2 separate regions of the Homo sapiens genome follow, and region 2 is linked to region 1. The links are contacts of gene promoters, found by promoter capture Hi-C in blood cells and fetal thymus (Javierre and others, 2016). All regions are on one chromosome and are shown on one strand. Each heading gives the region's core, a stretch centred on a gene start or on the middle of the fragment in contact. The rest is flanking DNA. Distances are from core to core; before and after follow the strand shown. Region 1 holds the start of TMEM154 (transmembrane protein 154). Region 2 overlaps FBXW7 (F-box and WD repeat domain containing 7).

Region 1 (6,953 bases), core at 2,791-5,290:
TCACAATCCTTTACAGTTTCATGTTGTGGTGACCAGGCCATCTACCTAGGCCCTGGAAGACCCTGTCATGGAAGCCCCTAGGATTATCCAAACCTTGCAACAGTTTCTCTGAAGAGTATTGGCAGCCAGGATGCAGAGACAGAGACCCCCAAGGGTGGAGATAGGCTGGTCAAGATGAGCCCGGCTGTGCAGGCTCCAGCTGCCCCCACTTCACGCGCAGTGAGATGGCTGTCAGCCCCTCTCCTGGCTGTGGCTTCTCTGCACACGCTAAATGTCAGCCTAATCCTTCTGCCCCAGCCTCTGCCCTGCCCGGCTACCTCTCTGGGCATTCCTTCAGAACCTGGGACTTCAATCTGCCTCCTCCCTGCACCTTCCTAGCTGGCTTCAGAGTGATACACAGGCCCCACCTGATGTTACTATTATCTTGTTTGAGGGCCAGCCCACAGCCAACCAAACACCCAGGAACCATCCACTGTCACTAGCAGGCATTTAGACAGAGAAAGAAGCTCCAGAACATTTGTATGTGAGTGTCGATGTGAGAGCGTGTGTGTGTGAGCACGTGTGCACATTTCTGAGTATGTGAGTGTGCCTGTGGGTGTGTGTTGGGAGACTGGATGTACAAATGGACAGTGGCCAAATAATATATGCAAAAACAGAACACTGGCTCCCAGCTTGCAGCAACCAACCCCCAGAAACCAATTCACTATCTTCAGTAGCAAGTCTAGGAAGCCAGCCTGCTAGAAATCAAACTTGTAGGAGGTCAGAGCACCTTCTGACAGATTCCCTCATTTTTATCTCCTCTTCTGATCTAGCAGCAGCAAAATATGCACCTCCTCACCAATCACTAGAACTTGCTGCTGGTTCCCCATGCCAGCAGCCTCCCTTCAGGCCATACCTGAGCCTTCCTTTTGTTTTTTTTCTGAAACGACTCTTGCTCTGTCGCCCAGGCTGGACTGCAATGGTGGGATCTCGGCTCACTGCAACCTCCACCTCTCAGGTACAAGTGATTCTTCTGCCTCAGCCTTCCGAGTAGCTGGGATTACAGGTACCCCGCATCATGCCCGGCTAATTTTTGTATTTTTGTAGAGATGGGGTTTTACTATATTGGCCAGGCTGGTCTTGAACTCCTGACCTCAGGTGATCCGCCCACCTTGTCCTCCCAAAGTGCTGGGATTACAGGTATGAGCCACTGCACCCGGCCCTGAGCCTTCCTTTTATCGACTGTAAAGTTATCTCATTCCTTGGCCTGCCTTTGGGTCTGTGCCAAAATGCAGCGATGGTGGCTGACTCTCTTGCTATGGCAAGCTCTGAATTAATATCCATTGCTTGGTTTCATTTGCTTGTGCTCATTTAGTCTTCATTTATTTCCACCATGTGCATGAATGTGTGTGTGAGAGACAGCTGTGTGTGTATCTGAGTGCATGTGCACATCTGTGTGTATTGGGAATGGCAGGATCGGAGTGTGAAGAGGAACGCGGAGAAGGCTGTCTGCACCCACTGGAAGATCCTATCATTTATCTGGATTTGTTCCCTTGGAGTCCCTCTTCTTTTATGGCCCATGGAGTGGTGGTGGGGAGGGGGCGGGGGGAAGGGAGGGAGGATAGGATGAGAGTCACTTCTGTAGCACAGACAGTTGATTGTAAAAGTCACACTCCTTTGTGTAAAGTAATAAAGAGTCCCTAGACATGGTTCCCAGTGTCCCTTCCTGCCCTTCTGAACATGATGAAGCACCATACTTCTTTCCTGCTTTCAGACAGCCAATGGCAGGCTCCAAAGTGGCATTACCCCTGCCTGTGTGCCACTCACTCTGAGGTTCCCCTGTGCCCCACATCTGGGACTGAGGCCCTGACTTCCTGCCACCAGTGCATCGGGATTTAATCTGAGGCTGGGTGGCTATTTGCCTAAATTAATGGTTGCTAAAATTAAAACAGAGGTAAATAGCCCTTTACCTACCACACAGCCTCCCTGGGATTTTAACTGCAGCAAAGAGATCATTGAGGTGCTACCATTTTCTGATCAATCATGGTAATTTTCTTCCCCCTAAGATCAGCTTAATCATGCTAAGGGTCTTAGAGAGCACAGGGGTCAAAAGAAAATTACATGGTTGGGCAGGATTTCTCTGCAGCTCCAGTTTATTTTGTACCTCACTCTGATTTAGTGTTGCACTGCTCAGAAGCAATGCATAGTGCACTTGTTGAAACAGTAATGAACTGTTTGGCCATGTCATGGGGCTCAGCAGAGGTCCACAGAATAAGACAGTCTGTGGTCCAATCCACAGACACCTGACTGCAAAAGCTTCCACAGGGAGCTGAAGTTTAAGATGAAAGAAACGAAGGCTGACAACCTTGCCCTTGACAAACATTTGCCTCCAGCCTGGGATTCAACAATGTTTTAATAACATTTAATAATATTTTAATAGGGCATAAATGGTAAAATGGAGAGAACTCCCAAGCCCTGGGCCTGCTTTCTTGCACGTGTGTGTCACAGCTGCAGAAACACGTGCTTGTACAGGAATAATTGCCACCCCAACTCAGTACCAGCAGGTCTTGGAGCCCGTGATCTATTCACATGCTCAGCAAGTGTTTAATTAATAGTTCTTTCTCTGTTGTTTTCAAATCAATCACCCAGTTTTGAGCACGTCTATTTTCTCCTGCTGTTTGTTCTGTATTGTCACCTGTGGTGCAAAAAGCATATTTTATCAAGAATTGACTTAATTGCCAGTTTAAAACATTAAAGTGCATACTGTAAATCCATTAACAAACTGATCCTTACATGAATCACCAACCTATTTCTTGTGAATAATAACTGAGATAAACAGTGACTAATGACATTGAAAAGCAGCAATGCATTAAAGAAAAATTAACAGCTATGTCAGGGGCTAAGGAATTCCAGTCACCTCATACGTTTGCACCAACCAGATCACTGAAGACAAACGACGGGAAGTCATGACTCAGATGGTGATCTGCAGGGAAAGGTTTAGAGATGAGATGTGTCTGATGCCTCAACACTACCCCTCTCTCCATCTGTCTGTCTCTCTTGGCACCACGATTATGAAACTGCATTCTGAATGCTTAGGCCCTAAACCTAAACCAAGGGAAGGACCTCCAATAGAACACCCAACACACACTAATCTCCACTGTATACTAGACACAACCTTTCTGTATTGTTTCGATTGGATAGGATTTCTACCATTATTCTATTTCGTTTCTGTCCTGTTTTGTTTGTTGTCTGAGAACTTGATTGTCAAGTAAGAAGGAAGGAAGGTGAGATGCAGATTCACCCCTACCTCCACCCTCAGAGCATATTCTCCTTTGGAAATGGACCTTGAAAAGATCATTTCTCTCTGGGGAAGCAGAACATAACCTTAAGGTGTGGGTGTGGCATCCACCTCCATCTGGCGTGGGCCTTGGTGGGAGGAGGGCATTCCAGAGTGGAGAAAGGAGAATGGACCTGGCGGAGAGAAGTGGTCTGGCAGTTTTCTGATGATGCAGTTGTCCCTGCTGTCTGGGCCTGCGCTATCCAACACAGCAGCCACTAGCCACTTGGAGTTATTAAAATTTTATAAAAATTCAATAAAATTTAAATTCCATCAGCACTAGCCTCAGTTCAAATGCTCAGTGGCCAATGTGGCTGATACTGTATCAGACGGCGCAGACTTGGAACATTTCCATCAGGGCAGAAAGTTCTACAGGACAGCTTCTTCCTAGGGTCTAGGCAGCCCCGGAGCCTCACCTGGGGGATAAGCAAAATCACAGAGTGAGAATGCGTGTGGTCCAGGACCCCTCCCAGTCCCAGATACCGAACGACATCTGAGCAAGGGACTCTGTTGCCCCGGGGACGGTTTCAAAAGCTGGAGGCCGGGACTCCAAAGGGCTGGAGAGGCGTGATAATAGAACCAGTGCTTCAACAGCAACTTCTCTTTTGCAATCCTTGCTGGTCTGACAGGCTCCTGCAGAATTACATCACTTCCTAAAAAACAGGCACACACCTCTCCTTCAAGTCAGCACCGACCCAAACAAGCAGGAAACAGGAAATGTTCACGTTTCAGAGAGGCTGCAGCCCGGCGCAGCATCCTGAGCGCGCCTCTGCCGAGGCGAGCGGACATGCAGGCTCCCCGCGCAGCCCTAGTCTTCGCCCTGGTGATCGCGCTCGTTCCCGTCGGCCGGGGTAAGCCGCCTCCACTTCCTACTCCTGGGAAGGAGGATCGCAAAAGCTGGTAGGGTGCCCGAGGCTACAGAACTCTGCCGGGGAGGGTGACACCCAGAAAATCTAATCCTTTCTGTGAAAGAAGTGGAGAAAATTAGAACTCCTTTTTTTGGGGGGTGGGATGGAGAGGGGACTTCGCTTTCGCTGCAGCTGTCTAAACTGGCTACAGCTCTCACTTCATTTAACCCTCTTTCAGTCTTTGTCTTCCAGGAAGTGTGCGTCCCTGTAATTTACCAGCTTTAATGGGCATATTAAGAAAACCATAAACTTTTTGGCAGTTTATGTAAAAAAAAACAAAAGCTTCAATTGGCTGAAACAGAGACATGATTAATTTGCTTTTTATGGTGTGGGCTGAGAAGTCTGCTGATTCCAAAATCTCCTGGAAAAACTGGGGTGTGAAAATTTACTACTAGAAAGCATACTAAAGAAACGACATAAACTTAAAAAAAAAAAAAGGAAACGGGAAATTATCCGAAGAGCTACCAAAGAGCTATGTGTTAGAGGGTAGCCCTCTAACACATCAAGTAAGGTCTTTCATCTACTTTTATTGCACCTTGTTACTTTTACAGATTTTTTTTTTGCATTGATTGTTACTAATGAAGATTTGTTTGAAAAAGTAATATGATTGGAACCAATCAAAGGTATTGGAAAAAACAATATTGAATCTCATTATTATGGGCTAAAAGCAACAACTGATTTACACCCTTGCCAGTTGCTACAACAAGCACAAGCACCTTCAGCTGCCTCTCTTGTTGACTTGCCTTTGGGCAAATACACTGGCTGCCCATTGTTTCTGTCAATGAACACCGACTGCTTCTAGTGTAGGGCAGTATTTACCAAGCAAAAGGAAAGTTCTCAAGCTACAGTTCTTTAGATAGAATGAGGGACATCAGCCCCAACCTAACAGATGTGACAACTTCCTGGAGGTCAGCAGCCAGCACCCAGCCACCCCACTCCATCAATTTCTCTTCCCCTGGGTGTTCTCCATGTGGTCCCCCAGGCATCTGAGGTAGAAAACAAAGTGGAAGGCAAATCATTCCAGCTGAAAAGATGTCTGGTTAAATTGAGTTTAGTGTTCAGAGTGGGTTTGGAAGTTGATGTGTTGTTTTATGCCCAGTGTTTTGGAGCTGGAAGGGAACTTGAAGATGATGCAGCTCAAACCATATTGGGCACACAGGTGAAGAAACAGAGGTGGAAGAAGGGAGATGTCTGGGTCTTGCTGCTAGTCAGCTCTTCTGGCTTCTACTCCAGAGTTCTTTGAGCTCCTCCACCCCCCACCACCACTGCCCCCCTCCCCCCACCGCCGCCCCGGAACCAATCACTGTCTCTGCCAAGAGCTCTGGAACCTTTCGTAGTAGGACATCAGGGAAGAAAAGCCTAGCCATCCTCCTTCCACCTCTTCTATTGCACAACACTGCCACAGGTGCCTCAAACACTCCCTTAATACTAATTCATCTTGCCTGAACTTTTTTTTTAGCTTCTAAAAAATGATTGAGTCCTAGTGTCTGCAATTCAGGAGATGCAAAAAGAGAATCTGAAGAGACTTGGTTAAAGTTGCCTTTCTGACACCTGAATCTGATCGTGCACATCTTCCCCCTTAAGGACCCCTCATTTATGCCCCTTCACTTGTTCCTCATTTTTGCCCCTTAGACTCTCACTGCAACCTCCTTCCCAGTGGCACCTCCTTCCAGTTGTCGTCCCCCTCCGTGGCTCTTGCCTATAATGAATACATTCTTTTTCCTACCTAGCAAATTCTTGTATCACCTTAAAAGTATCAAACTAAATGTGATCTCCTCCTTGATGTCTCCTTTCTCTGCCCCTTCCCTGGAGCTCTACTCGTACCTGCTGCTGTGCCCCGATAGACCTAAACTTCTGCTAATCACTTTGAACCATAATTGTGTCCATGCCTCCCAACTGGCTGTGAACAGCTCCAGGGAAAATCCTCTGTAGTTCACCTTTGACTTTCCAAAATCCTGTAAGGGCTCAGCATAAATGAGAAAATAATTGTTGATAAATATGAAAATCATCCCTAGAATGGATATGAGGCTGATTACAAAAAAAACTGATAGCTCCTGAAAACAGGTAGTGTTGGAATGTAAAGAGAAGTCAAAGATGAAAAGTTGCATTTCAGTAGAGTGCAGGGATTACCTAAATAATCCAACATGCTAATTGGGCCCTGCTGGGATTCCCAATGTCTGAAAAATGCCCACTTGCAAAAAGCTGTTGAATAAAAGCTATGACTTTGAGATGATTCATCATGGAAAAGGTGATTTTAAATTAAAGATTTTTAAAATTAATTAATGTACACTACTTTTAGCTAATAGTGCCTAAGGCTTCAGGATATGAGTTACTTTCTAGGTGTCACAGGTATATTTCCTTGAATTCTTCAAAAAATACCTGGGGATGTTTGTTAGATGAATCCAACCTACTGAAGGGCCTGACACTGTTTGTGAGTATACTCTGAGATGTATCTCAAATTAAGCCTTTATTAACAACGAGCAGGCAACATGAGATAATATCTGCAGTTGCATGAGACCAGCACTGTTACCTCTGAGTCAGCGACCTCTTCTCTTTTTAGAGATAGATAGCCTGACATAGAATTGAGTTCTACCCCAAGAGAAATAATTCACTTGGAAGTCACCAGGAGAGAAATAAGAAAGCAGCTTTTCTGGGACTATAATGGAATGGGTGAGCATAGTTAAAGGAAAGCTTGGGCCTAGGTGCCTTGGCCAGTGTAGGATCCTAAG
Region 2 (7,194 bases), core at 1,087-3,586, 240 kb after region 1:
AAACAAAAATGGGCAATATGTTGGATTGACTGAAAATAATTTTTAAGTGTTTAGTAGCAATAAAATTTAATCTTTTAGTGCAGATTGGTTTACCCCATAACAGCACATATGGAAGAAGTAAAGCCAGGTCTGTATGAAGCAGGAGGTGACATTGGACTTTTTTTTTTTTTTTTTTTTTGTGACGGAGTCTTGCTCTGTCACCCAGGCTGGAGTGCAGTGGCACGATCTTGGCTCACTGCAAGCTCCACCTCCTGGGTTCACACCATTCTCCTGCCTCAGCCTCCTGAGTAGCTGGGACTACAGGTGCCTGCCACCACACCTGGCTAATTTTTTTGTATTTTTTAGTAGAGACGGGGTTTCACTGGGTTAGCCAGGATGTCTCAATCTCCTGACCTCGTGATCGGCCCGCCTCAGCCTCCCGAAGTGCTGGGATTACAGGCCTGAGCCACCGTGGACTTCTTTAAATAACCATAGTACAGGCAGTTACTTTTGTTATATAACAGTATAGTTGTCTCTGAAGAAAACCTGAAGCTCTGCAAAATCGGGCCCTGAAAATCGGTTTCTGAGTGGCTTGTTCCTGTGTAAACTTGTAATCTCTGTAGTAACGAAACCAGTACCCATTCTAATAAAAATATTATATAGCTAAATATTTACCCCAGTTAGTTCTAAGTTCTAGGATTTATGCTTTCTCCTTTGAAATGTAGGTCCTCGAGAACATTCATTTCTACTTATGATGAAATTGTGAAAACTAGTAAATCTGATCCAGGGTGTAGTTTTTATCAGTTGCCTCTCACCCCTTAAAAAAAAAAATTAACGTGGGAAAAATATTGTCATGGATTTTCTATCTGTACTCACAGCTTGACCAGATGGTTTTAACATTGTGGAATGCCTAGCAGTTTAAAGCCATTAACTAGCCTCTGGTTACCCTCTTCTGGATTTCTAGTTTTTTTCTTAAGGTCATCATGTATTGCTTAAGCTCTGTCTTTGTGAGAAAGCTTGTCCCTGCTGGCTTTAAAACTTTACTATGCTGGGGAAAATTTTGGACTAAAGTGACATTCACATTATACTGACCTCATCGCCCAAATGATGAATGAATGAACTAATGTACACTACAAGAACATGTCTTAATAGGAAAGTAGACTGTTGTCTGTAGTTGTCCCATTGTTTTATCATTGCTGCTACTATATTGACATGAAGTAGCAGTGGGTGTGCATGTTTGTATATTTTTTCTGTGCTGTTAAATAAGTCCACGCACATCTCCCATGTGGGTAGGGTAGTACTGGGTGATGGAGTAGGTTTACCAGTACCATTTGTCCCTTACTTTACTTGTATAGCTTTATGTTTTAAAATAGAGTGTTTTTGTTTTTTTGAGACAGAGTCTCAGTCTGTCACCCAGGCTCGAGTGCAGTGATGTAATCTCGGCTCACTGCAACTTTTGCCTCTGGGGTTCAAGTGATTCTCGTTCCTCAGCCTCCTGAGTAGCTGAGATTACAGGTGTGTGCCACTCCTGGCTAATTTTTATGTTTTTAGTAGAGACAGTGTTTCACCATGTTGGCCAAGTTGGTCTCGAACTCCTGACCTCAAGTGATCCACCTGGCTTGGCCTCCCAAAGTGCTGAGATTACAGGCATGAGCCACCGTGCCTGGCCACTTTTTGTTAGAATTAATACTTTGAAGATACCATGGATTTGGTTCTAGACCACTACAATTAAGCAAATATCATAATAAAGTTAGTCACAAGAATTTATTGTTTCCCCAGTGCATATAAAGTTATATTTACATGGCATTGTAGCCTATTAAGTATGCAATAGCATTCTGTCTAAAAAGTGTGCATACCTTAACTAAAAAATACTTTACTATTTATTTATTTATTGAGACAGTCTTGCTCTGTTGCCCAGGCTGGAGTGCAGTGGTATGGTATTGGCTCGCTGTAACCTCCGCCTCTCAGGTTCAAGCGATTCTCTTGCCTCTGCCTTCCAAGTAGCTGGGATTACAGGCACCCGCCACCACACCCGGCTAATTTTATATTTTTAGTAGAGACCGGGTTTCACCATGTTGGCCAGGCTGGTCTTGAACTCCTGACCTCAAGTGATCTGCCCACCTCTGCCTCCCAAAGTGCTGAGATTACAAGCGTGAGCCATCGCGCCTGGCTAAAAAATACTTGATTGCTAAAAAATGCTAACAATCACCTGAGCCTTCAGGGAGTCACGATCATTTTACTGCTGTAGTCTTGCCTCAGTGTTGATGGCTGCTGACTGATAGAGTGATGTTGCTGAGGGTTGGAATGGCTGTGTCAGTTTCTTAAAATAACAATGAAGTTTGCTGCATTGATTGACTCTTCCTGTCATGAACGATTTCTCTGTAGCGTGTGATGCTGTTTGATAGCATTTTATGCAGAGTAGAACTTCTTTCAAAACTGGAGGCAATCCTTTCAAATCCTGCCGCTGGTTTATCAATTAAGTGTATGCAGTATTCTAAATTGTTTAACTTTGTCTCAGGAAACTACTTTCCTTGCTCATTCAGAAGAAACAACACCTTATCCATTCAAGTTTTATTATGAGATTGCAACAGTTTAGTCACATTGTCAAACTCCAGTTCTAATTCTAGTTCTCTTGCTATTTCTACGCGCCTGCAGTGACTTCCGCCACTGAATTTTTTTTTTTTTTGAGATGGAGTCTGGCTCTGTCTCCCAGGCTGGAGTGCAGTGGCACGATCTCAGTCAGCTCACTGCAACTTGCGCCTGCCGGGTTCAAGTGATTCTTCTGCCTCAGCCTCCTGAGTAGCCCTCCACTGAAGTCTTGAACCCCTCAAAGTCATCCACGAGGGTTGGAATCAACTTCTTCCAAACTCCTGTTGATGTTGATATTTTGACCTCCTTCTGTGAAACACAGATATTCTTAATGGTATCTGGAGTGCAGTTATCCTTCTCAAAAGGTTTTCAATTTACTTTGCCCAGATCCATCAGAGGATTCACTATGTATATATATAAAACAGCTAATGTATTTCTAAAACAAGACTGGAAAGTAGAAATGACCCTTGATTAATGGGCTGCAGAATGGGTATTGTATTATTAGGCATGAAAACAACATGAATCTCCATGTACATCTCCATCAGAGCTCTTGGGTGACCAGGTTCGTTGTCATTGAGCAATGAGTAATATTTGAAAGGAATCTTTCATTCTGAGCAGTAGGTCTCAACAGTGGGCTTAAAATGTCTAGTAAAGTCTTGCAATAAATGGATGTGCTGCCATCTAGGCTCTGTTATTCCATTTGTAGAGCACAGGGAGAGTATATTTAGCCTAATTCTTAAGAGCTCTACAGTTTTTGGAATGGTAAATGAGCACTGTTCTACCTAAAGTCAACAGCAGCATCAGCCCCTAACAAGAGAGTCAGCCTGTCCTTTAGTTTGGAAGGCAGGTATTGACTTCACCTGTCCAGCTAGAAGAGTCATGGATGGCATCTTCCAGCAGGGGGCTGTTTCATCTACAGTGAAAATCTGTTGTTTAGTGTAGCCACCTTCGTCAGTGATCTTAGTTAGCTAGACCTTTTAGGTAACTTGCTGCAGCTTCTGCATCAGCATTTGCTGCTTTACCTTGTACTTATATGTTATCAAGACAGCTTCTTTTTTTAAGCCCGTGAACCAACCTCTGCTAGCTTCCAGCTTTTCTTCTGAAGCTTTCTCACCTCTCTCAGCCTTCATAGAATTGAAGTGAGTTAGGGCCTTGCTCTGGATAAAGCTTTGGTCTAAGGAAATGTTATGGTTGATTTGACCTTTTATTCAGATCACTCAAAACTTTTTCCATATCAACAATAAGGCTATTTCACTTTCTTATCATTTATGTGTTCACTGGAGTAGCACTTTTAATTTCCTTCAAGAACTTTTCTTTTGCATTTCTAGCTTTTGATTTAAAGTGAGACTCTTCCTTTTTGCCTGAATGCTTAGAGGCCATTTTAGGATTATTAATTGGCCTAATTTTAATATTGTTTTGTCTTAGGGGATAGGGAGGCCTAAGGAGAGGGACAAAGATGGGGGAATGGCTGGTTGGTGTAGTAGTCAGAATACACAACATTTTTGCCGTCTTCCATGGGTGCGGTTTGTGGCACCCCAAAACAATTACAGTAGTAACATGAAAGATCACTGATCATTGATCATCATAATAGATACAATAATAATGAAAAAGTTTGAAATACTGCAAGAATTACCAAAATGTGATACAGAGACATGAAGTTACCACATGCTTTTGAAAAAATTGTGCTGATAGACTTGCTCAACATAGGATTGCCACAAACTTCCAATTTTTAAAAAAATATACTATTTGTGAAGTGCAGTAAACTGCAGTCCAGTAAAATGAGGTATGCCTGTAAAACAAACCCGCAGAAAAAAAATCGTCTACTCAGAAGAGCACTGACAAGTATCATTGAATTATTATATCTACAACTTGCTAATCAAGCTAATGTAGTGTGAGTTGTAGATACAACCATTTTAATGCAGGGGTTCCTGAGATCTGAAAATTATTTTAAGTGTGCCTCCAGTGTAGAAAGATTGAGAAAGGTTGAAAGTGAAGATCAATAATGGGATGAACTGGAAATATGCCTACCTGATAATACAAAGCAATGAGAGAAACATAGTATCACTTCCGTCATATTCCTGCCTGCGATGCATAATGTGAATCCAAAATTAGACAAACCAAAATTAAGGGCCGTTATACAAAATGAATGGCTTATAATCTTTCAAAGTTGTTAAAGGAATGAAAATAAAGAAAGGATCAAGGAAGTATTTCAGATACAAAACTCAAATGGGTTCTGAGGAATAGACAGTCTGATATGTCAGTGCCATTTTCCTTACTTTAACATTTATATTGTGATTATGAAGAAGTATGTCCTTTTTATAAGAAATGCATACTTACGTGTTTGGTAGGGGATGGTGCATCATGTTGGAAACCCCTCCCCTCCCCTCCCCTCCCCTCCCCTCCCCTCCCCAGGCCTCTCGTTAGTAGTTTCCAAACCTTTTGCATGCTGAACCCATTGCTCAAATGAAGGCAGAATATTAAACATGTAAAGGAAGAGCTTGTGTGTGGGGGGGGGGGAGCGGGGGGAAAGGAGGTTGGGGGAACAGAGAATTAGGAACCCCTGAGTGACTACAGAACTTCTGAAAACCACTGTTCTGTAGGATAAAATCTAAACTCTGAAGCACATTATACAAACCTCTATCTATACACATCAGTTTGTCTGAAATTGTATATTTCTCAACAATATTGATCTATTTGTATTTCAATATGTTGTATGCTCTCATATGTCTGTATCTTTGCAAATGATATTTTCTTCTCTTTAACGATTTTTGTCTTACCCTGCTGGTAAGGAAGTCACCTTCCCTCTCCCTTCTGTATATCCTTGTCAAGGAACTATGGAAATTGAATGGCATAGGTCTTGATACAAGAACCTCTCTTTTCTCTTTATAAAAAAGTCAGTAAATAGTGGTGGAACATTCAGGAGAAAGTTGGGGACATAGAGACTAAGAAGGCAATGCAGTATTATTAGGACAGGGGGTAAACTAAGGCATAGAGGACAGATTTGATGAACATATTATCTTTTTTATATACATTATAAGAAGTAGAAGGCTAGAAAAGTGAACATGCTTGCTATTGCACGTCTCACTTTCCAATTTCATGAAGAAAGCAAAAACTACTTCTACTTTATTACTTCTTTTTGATGTTAATTGGTACCACATAGCAAGTTTGCATTATAGTACTGAGCTTTAAAATGCAAGGATATACTCATGTATATACACAGACAATAAATAATAGGTTCTTTTCCACATTCAGGAAGTGAAACTCAGCTGTCCGTACGACACTTACTGTCCATATATAGGCATCCCTCAGTATCTGCAGGGGATTGGTTCCAGGACCCTCACACCAAAATCTAGGTATACTAGTCCTGCAGAACCAACATATATGCAAAGTTGGTCCTCTGTATACTTGGGTTTCTATATCCCATTAATGTGGAGAATACTTTTGATATGTGGATATGGAGAGCTGACTGTATTTATTGAAAAAAAATCCACGTATAAGTGCACCTGTGCTGTTCAAACTCATGTTGTTTGAGGGACAACTGTATTCTGTTACTTCCTATAGTTTCTAAAAGCATTAACCAACAAATACATGTAAGATGCGTGGAATAATTTTTCCATTTCCTAGAAAATAGTCAATCATTTTTTTTTCAGATTGTGAACTAGAAAGCATAGTGAATATAGATTTTTAAACATGAAAATGTAAGTGTCCATTTTAAATTGTTATGGATATTTCTGTTTGCTGAAGTTCAAGACTGAAGACTACTGGAAAAAATCCTGTGACTGAGAGCACATAGATTCCTTCTTTTTAGGTAGAGCGCAACAGTCACCATGACTTCAGTGTTTGCATATGGAAGCTAAAATCTGTCTGAGAAAGGGCAAACAATCACAGGAGTCATTGATTTATTTATTTGTTCATTTTTAATGCAAATTTTAATTGAGTGAAAAAGTGGTGGAAAAAACAGTTGACTAAAGAAGATATGAGAAGGGTTAATACATGAAGAAGTCCTCAATAATATTAGCCACCATGGAGATGCAGATTAAAACCACAATGCCATACTACTTTCCATCCACAAGAATAGCTAAAATTAAAAGAAGTCAGTCACCACTGAATGTTGGTGAAAATAGGAAGCAGCTGAAACTCTCTTACATGGCTGGTGGAAGTGTAAAATGGTACCATTCCTGTGGAAAACTAATTGACAGTTTCTTAGAAAAAACACTCACCCTATGAGCAAGCACTCCTAGTTATTTACCCAGGAGAAATGTCCACAAATAGGCTGGCACAAGAATGCTTATAGCAGCTTTATTCAGAATGACCAAAAACTGAAAACAACTCCCCAACATTCATCAAGAGAAGTGATAAATAAATTGAGGTATATTCATACAATAGAAAGTACACAGGGACAGAAAAGAATGGATTTCTGATACATGCGACAACACGAATATCAAAAACAGTATGCTGAATTAAGGAAAAAGACAACAAAAGTAATGCAGCATGAGTCATATAAACATCATATAAAAATGATGTTTCAAAATCCACAAAACTAATCTGCACTGATGGAACAGTAGTTATCTAAATGTGCTAAGGAGTGATTAGAATGGGAATGGGACATGAGAAAAGAGGGAACTT

The links. The method cuts DNA at HindIII sites, captures the fragments that hold promoters and counts their contacts. A CHiCAGO score of 5 or more calls a contact.
Region 2: a fragment that was not itself captured here is called in contact with the fragment with the promoter of TMEM154 in region 1 in 2 of 17 cell types (total B cells and monocytes); the score reaches 5.5 in total B cells.

Annotation. Positions count from the first base shown.
Region 1 is chr4:152,677,084-152,684,036 of GRCh38, reverse strand. It overlaps TMEM154 (transmembrane protein 154), which reads left to right and starts at 4,040. Exons shown (of 7, transcript NM_152680.3): 1 at 4,040-4,167. The coding sequence starts at 4,104. LOC105377495 (a long non-coding RNA gene) reads right to left here and starts at 3,952. Exons shown (of 4, transcript XR_939359.3): 1 at 3,733-3,952; 2 at 3,364-3,450; 3 at 2,897-2,962; 4 at 2,375-2,674. RefSeq lists enhancers at 3,957-4,266, 3,577-4,406. The HindIII fragment of the contact is 2,211 bases long and covers 2,298-4,508 here.
Region 2 is chr4:152,432,850-152,440,043 of GRCh38, reverse strand. The region is part of intron 2 of FBXW7 (F-box and WD repeat domain containing 7); the gene reads left to right. Among named protein-coding and RNA genes, the nearest start is that of MIR3140, 53 kb to the left of the region's middle. The HindIII fragment of the contact is 2,678 bases long and covers 998-3,675 here.